Linked DNA regions of Homo sapiens: region 1 is linked to region 2. The links are contacts of gene promoters, found by promoter capture Hi-C in human tissues and cell types (Jung and others, 2019). All regions are on one chromosome and are shown on one strand. Each heading gives the region's core, a stretch centred on a gene start or on the middle of the fragment in contact. The rest is flanking DNA. Distances are from core to core; before and after follow the strand shown. Region 1 overlaps BCL2 (BCL2 apoptosis regulator). Region 2 holds the start of BCL2 (BCL2 apoptosis regulator).

The links. Contacts are between HindIII fragments. The study calls those that stand out against the background at their distance.
Region 1: a contact is called between a fragment that was not itself captured here and the fragment with the promoter of BCL2 in region 2, in 1 of the 25 tissues and cell types used here (hippocampus).

The regions. Positions count from the first base shown.
Region 1 is chr18:63,285,563-63,288,609 of GRCh38, forward strand. The region is part of intron 2 of BCL2 (BCL2 apoptosis regulator); the gene reads right to left. Among named protein-coding and RNA genes, the nearest start is that of BCL2, 33 kb to the right of the region's middle. The HindIII fragment of the contact is 3,059 bases long and covers 1-2,831 here.
Region 2 is chr18:63,318,060-63,321,325 of GRCh38, forward strand. It overlaps BCL2 (BCL2 apoptosis regulator), which reads right to left and starts at 1,710. Exons shown (of 3, transcript NM_000633.3): 1 at 1,115-1,710; 2 at 23-893. The coding sequence starts at 607. RefSeq lists silencers at 332-571, 1,927-2,116, 2,277-2,486, 2,517-2,586. The HindIII fragment of the contact is 10,586 bases long and covers 1-3,266 here.

The DNA of each region.
Region 1 (3,047 bases), core at 52-2,551, 33 kb before region 2:
CCGGGGAGGTACTGGATGGGGGATGTGTTCAGGAGGCTTCTGCCAGCCATGGACTGAACATATGTCAGCCATGTGGTACGGTTCTTACACAAAAACAGAATCCTGAGTTTGGTTTCACAAACAGGCTCATCTCTCATCTCTGAGTGTGTAGCGGGAGAGGGTGCACCGTTTCCATGCAGGGCAAATCTGTCTGCATGGGGCTGGGGGTTCTGCATCTCAGCATGGGTTTGGAAAGTACTAGAAGTGCATCTCACTCAACTTGATTTAGCAAGCATGTCTTTGTGGTCCATGGCTTGTGTTGGCAACTTAAATTTGACAGCACACAAACTATGTGATGGTGATGGAGGGGCAGGTATAGCAACGTCCAGTTTCCCACCTCCAGGTAGTGGCATTCTCCCTGTCCTTTCTGCAACAGCAGCCTGGGAGGTTTTCAATGCCCTTACTTCTCCTGGGTATATCTGAACTATGTCCTGCTCTTATACACATAAAAGGGTCACTTGAGGAGCTTTGGCCATATGGCAGCTGTTTGGAAACAGGCTGCCTGATGCATTGACAACCACAAGAAATCTGGAAGAGTAAAACCTGCCCCATAGCTGGCATGCTACTTGTACATTAAAATGAGAGCATAATGTAAAAGAAATGCCTTAACACTTCCTTCACTAGGTTCAAACTTGCTGTGATTATTTAGGAATTCATTTCATTTAACCAAATATGAATTGAGCACCTTTTACACAGTTGGGGGCAGGGGTGTCCAAACAGACATGAATAATTATGATACAAAACCTATTGTATATATACACAGAAAATGGATGTAGACACAAAATGAATAAACATGAAATGAATGTAGACAAAGGATAGGTTAATTTTCATTGAAGGGGAGGCAGGAGGGTTCAACAAAGGAGTTGAACGTAGCTGGGACGTAAGATTAGGGCAGGAGTAGGGGCGAGGATTGGGAGCAGAAAGTAAGGAGGACAGAGAACTTTAATGGGAGGTAGACTGGAAAGTGGGCTGGTGCCAGCCCTGAAGGTCAGCTGTACACCAAACTCTGTAGCTTGGTATACAATGACCTCTGAGCCAACCTTCAGGGCTGGCATTCTGAAGGTCATTGAAGGGGAGGTAGGAGGATTTGGTTTGCGGCAGTTTCCAGGTGAGAGGCAAGAAGTAAGGAGAGAAGGCAGAGATGGCACAGGATGGTGGGAAGGGAGTCCTTGGTGCCCAATCTCTGCCAGGCAGGGTCCTATCTTGCTACCCCATGATCCCCACATGATGATTGCATGGAGCAGATGTCATTATCCCCATTGCAGATCTGGGTCTCCTGGGTCCCTCCTCAAAATAAGACCCATTCAAAAGACACCTCCTACAACACGGGTCTGAACTACAGGTCTCCCGAGGCCACTATGGAAGGATACTGGCACTCATTCAACAGCAAAACTGTCCCAAAACATCTTCTGTAGACATCTGTCCCTCTCCAGCGTTTTGCTTCTTGTGGCAGTTGTTCTCTTTTCTCCGTCTCTCACTTCTCTCTCTACTACCCCCTTCTTGGATCCCTTTTCTCACAAGAGCTCTAGGCCACCATTTCTTACTCAGAGTGACTTCCTGCTTCTCTGATCTGCCCATCAGTTGCCCCAGTTAGCAAGATGAAGGGTCCTCCTCAGGAACCAACCTCCTTAGAAAGTATTAGAATTCTGTATGCTCCTTATTTTATACTCTGGCTGGGTCACATTCTAACAAGGAAACTGAAGCTTGGAGAAACTAAGTGTTTCTCAAGGTGCTCAACAGAGATGTTTTAGGAAGATAAATGGCATTGACGAAGAGGATGGATGGGCTGGGAACAGGTGCTGAAAGAGAAGGATACCAATCTATGACATTTTGGAAAATACAAAACTCTAGGGATATAGAAGAGAAGAGAAGTTGCCAGGGCTAAGGGTTAGGGGGTGGCGGGCAGTTTGAGTACAAACTCTCATCATGAAATATGTTTGGGGGGTGACTGACCTGTTCTGTATACTGATTAGAGTAGTGGTTACCTCTCTGTTCATTTATCAAAACCCACAAAGCTACACAAAAATGATGAATTTTACTGTAGGTAAACTTAAGAATAATTTTTGAAATGACAGGAAGACTGGCTAGGAGGTTACAGCATATGCAAGAAGGAATGAGAGGTTGAATTAGAGCAGCAGCAGCAGCAGGATAAAAAAATAATAAAATAATTTTAAAAACCTAAAAACCAGAGATCTAGGGAAGAGAGACTTTTAGAAGCAGGATTCAGATATGTGGGGAGTATGAGTGAAGAACTCAGATATGCAGACTTTCAGGGCTGGAAAGAATCTTAAGAGATGATCCAGGAAAGCTCTATCTCACAGATGAGAAAACCAAGTTGAAAATGATTTAAGAGTTTGGGGCTCTGTCTGGGTGGACAGTGATATCATTAAGCAGACAGAACAGACATAGATGAGCAGGCGAGAGGAGGAAGTTGATGAGTTCATTTTGGACATTTTGATTTTGGAACATTTATGTCACCAAGATTTCTTTTTTTAGTTTTTAGGAATTTGAAAACAAAATTGTTGGGTTTTGGCATTGAGTGCAATATCTTTCCACAAATACTGTTTCATTACAGCTACAATGAAAAAGAACTTTGAATACAGATCCCTACATGAAGATGACACATTAGCTTCTTCTGAGTTGTTTTTGTTTTGTGACTTTCCTTCAGCATCACAAAGAGGGAATGACACTGACCCAGCAAAGATTTTAGGCACATTATCCATTAACATACTTGCCACGAACACTACCATATTTTCATGTGTTTATATAACAAAGCTTTTCCTTCCTTATTAAAAACAATACAAATCAAGCTTTGAAAAGCAGTTGTTTTCCATTCTTACTGATGCTAGGCTATAATTCACTGCTGTTTTGTTTTCGTTTTAGAATATTTAGCAAGCAACCAAGGGAAGATGGGCATTGACTTGCTATTAGTCAGTAGGCACAGCCTAGTGAAAGTTTCCATGCTGCACATAGGGCTGAAATCAAGGAGTCTTTTGTCCATATTTCAG
Region 2 (3,266 bases), core at 460-2,959:
TCACATCACCAAGTGCACCTACCCAGCCTCCGTTATCCTGGATCCAGGTGTGCAGGTGCCGGTTCAGGTACTCAGTCATCCACAGGGCGATGTTGTCCACCAGGGGCGACATCTCCCGGTTGACGCTCTCCACACACATGACCCCACCGAACTCAAAGAAGGCCACAATCCTCCCCCAGTTCACCCCGTCCCTGAAGAGCTCCTCCACCACCGTGGCAAAGCGTCCCCGCGCGGTGAAGGGCGTCAGGTGCAGCTGGCTGGACATCTCGGCGAAGTCGCGGCGGTAGCGGCGGGAGAAGTCGTCGCCGGCCTGGCGGAGGGTCAGGTGGACCACAGGTGGCACCGGGCTGAGCGCAGGCCCCGCGGCGGCGCCGGGGGCAGCCGGGGTCTGCAGCGGCGAGGTCCTGGCGACCGGGTCCCGGGATGCGGCTGGATGGGGCGTGTGCCCGGGCTGGGAGGAGAAGATGCCCGGTGCGGGGGCGGCCCCCGGGGGCGCGGCGCCCACATCTCCCGCATCCCACTCGTAGCCCCTCTGCGACAGCTTATAATGGATGTACTTCATCACTATCTCCCGGTTATCGTACCCTGTTCTCCCAGCGTGCGCCATCCTTCCCAGAGGAAAAGCAACGGGGGCCAACGGCACCTCTCGCCCCAGCTCCCACCCCACGGCCCCCAGAGAAAGAAGAGGAGTTATAATCCAGCTATTTTATTGGATGTGCTTTGCATTCTTGGACGAGGGGGTGTCTTCAATCACGCGGAACACTTGATTCTGGTGTTTCCCCCTTGGCATGAGATGCAGGAAATTTTTATTCCAATTCCTTTCGGATCTTTATTTCATGAGGCACGTTATTATTAGTAAGTATTGTTAATATCAGTCTACTTCCTCTGTGATGCTGAAAGGTTAAAGAAAAAACAAACTAATAAGTAAAAAATCAGGTGCGTTTCCCTGTACACACTGAGTGAAAGCAGGGCATACACACTACAAGTAACACGGCTAAAAAGAATGTATTAAGCTGCCTGGAAATTAAATTTACTCGAATGCACTTTAAGTAAAAAATCTCAAAGGTTTCCATTGAAAGTTACATTAAACCAATTTCCTGTGCAGAGAACTTACTTGTATTTTTTAAGTACAGCATGATCCTCTGTCAAGTTTCCTTTTTGTAAAACCAAAACAAATGCATAAGGCAACGATCCCATCAATCTTCAGCACTCTCCAGTTATAGCTGATTTGAAACTTCCCAATGAATCAGGAGTCGCGGGGAGAGGGAGTAAAAATTAGGAGGATTTCCAGATCGATTCCCAGACTTCTGCTTCACAGAAATGTCAATCCGCAGGAATCCCAACCGGAGATCTCAAGAGCTCGAGAAAAAAAAAAGGCAGCGGCGGCGGCAGATGAATTACAATTTTCAGTCCGGTATTCGCAGAAGTCCTGTGATGTTTTCCCCTTCTCGGCAATTTACACGCGCGCACACACGCGCGGGCACAGGCATGAATCTCTATCCACGGGACCGCTTCACGCCTCCCCAGGAGAGAGACAGGGGAGAGGGGACGATGAAGGAGCCGGGGACGGAGGCAGGAATCCTCTTCTGATTAAACTCCGAACAGCAAATGCATTTTCCGAAAAGCTGCTGGATAAATGAAGGCAGGACGCGCCTGGCCCGCCGGTGCCGAGCGCTAGAAGCCCGCGCTGTGTGTGGTGCGGCGAGGGGTGGGGAGAAGGAGGTGGTGGGGGAGGGTTTTATTTTTTCCCTCTTTTCCTAAAAAGGATGACTGCTACGAAGTTCTCCCCCCTGGACCCCCTCTTCCGCTGCACCCCACCGGCGCACCCCGCCTCCGGGCTGCGCACCCTTTCTCCTCCTCCTGGTCCTGCGCGGCGGCGCTGGCTACGGCCGCCTCCCGGAGCTCCCGCCGCGCAGCCCGCTCCGAGCGCTGACGGCCGCCGGCAGGGAGGGCCCGGAGCCCCGGCACCTTCGCTGGCAGCGGCGGCGGCGGCAGCGCGGCGGGGCCACGGAGAGCGGCGGGCGGGAGCGCGGCGGGCGGGCGGGCAGGCGGCGCGGAGGGGCGGGCGCGGGAGGAAGGGGGCGGGAGCGGGGCTGTGGTGCCTGTCCTCTTACTTCATTCTCTGCACAGCCCGACCGGTTTCCTGTGCGTAACGTCACACGGTTCATTCAAAAAAAGAAGAAAGAAAGAGCCCTCCTCTGAGCCACCCGACCGCCCCCTCCGCCCCGCTCCCTGGCCCGGGTTAAAGGCGCCGCGGCAGGCCCGGGAGTGGCGCGTCCCGCCGGGGGCACATGGCGCGCGGGGCCGCGGCCGGGGAGGGCGCGTCCGGGCCGGCCACCCGCCCGCTCCGCTGCGCCCGCGGGGCCCGGCCAGTGGGTGGCGCGGGCGGCACAGGCCTCCCGCGCGGCCGCGGCGCGGTGGGTGTGCGCGGGGCCTTCTGCTCAGGCCTGCGGCAGGCCGCGTGCGGACTTGGTGGTCGCTGGGGTCCGCGACGGGGTGGGGGCTCCCGGGGAACCGCACGCGGCCGGGCCGGGCGGACGACGGAGTGCGGAGGGGGGCGGCTGGCGGGAGGGTGCGCCATGAAAACAAGGGCTGGAAAAGCGCCGGGAACCGCCTGGACCCTTTCTGGCCGTGTGAGTGTGTGTGGAGTGTGTGTGTGTGTGTGTGTGTGTGTGTGTGTCTCGCCTGGACCTTTTCTAGCCGTGTATGTGGGAGTGTGTGTGTCGCCTGGACCCTTTCTAGCCGTGTATGAGAGTGTGTACACGCGCCTACACACACACACGTTGTGTTACCGGCGCTCGGCCGCCGGGGGAAGACCCAGGCCAATGCCGCCCCCCACCGCCCCCAGCAGTGGGACCTCAGCGCTGCCCTGCTGTGAAGACAGGTGACTCTGCACGTTTTAAGCAATGTCTAGGGACGCCCCGAGCGTGGTGTTTACTTTCAAGTAGCTTCCTAGGTGTCCGCGCACTACACACGCACGCGCATCCCCGCCCGTGTCCACCTGAACACCTAGTCCGTGGCCCAGGCCATGCAGAACTCAGCGCTCCAGGGAAGGGGTTTATCAAGGGCTTTACGACAGTTTAAGTCAATGTTTTCCCTCTGTCCCTAACACCTTTTACACTGGTTTAGTGCTACACGATGAGGACTTCCATATAGTAACTTTCAGGCCCACCGTCCTAACGCTGGGGTGGGTGGGCTCCTAAAGGTCTCCACCTTTGCCTCGTAGCCAATCCTAGTTGGCCGCACTTTCTCAAATGAGGTACATA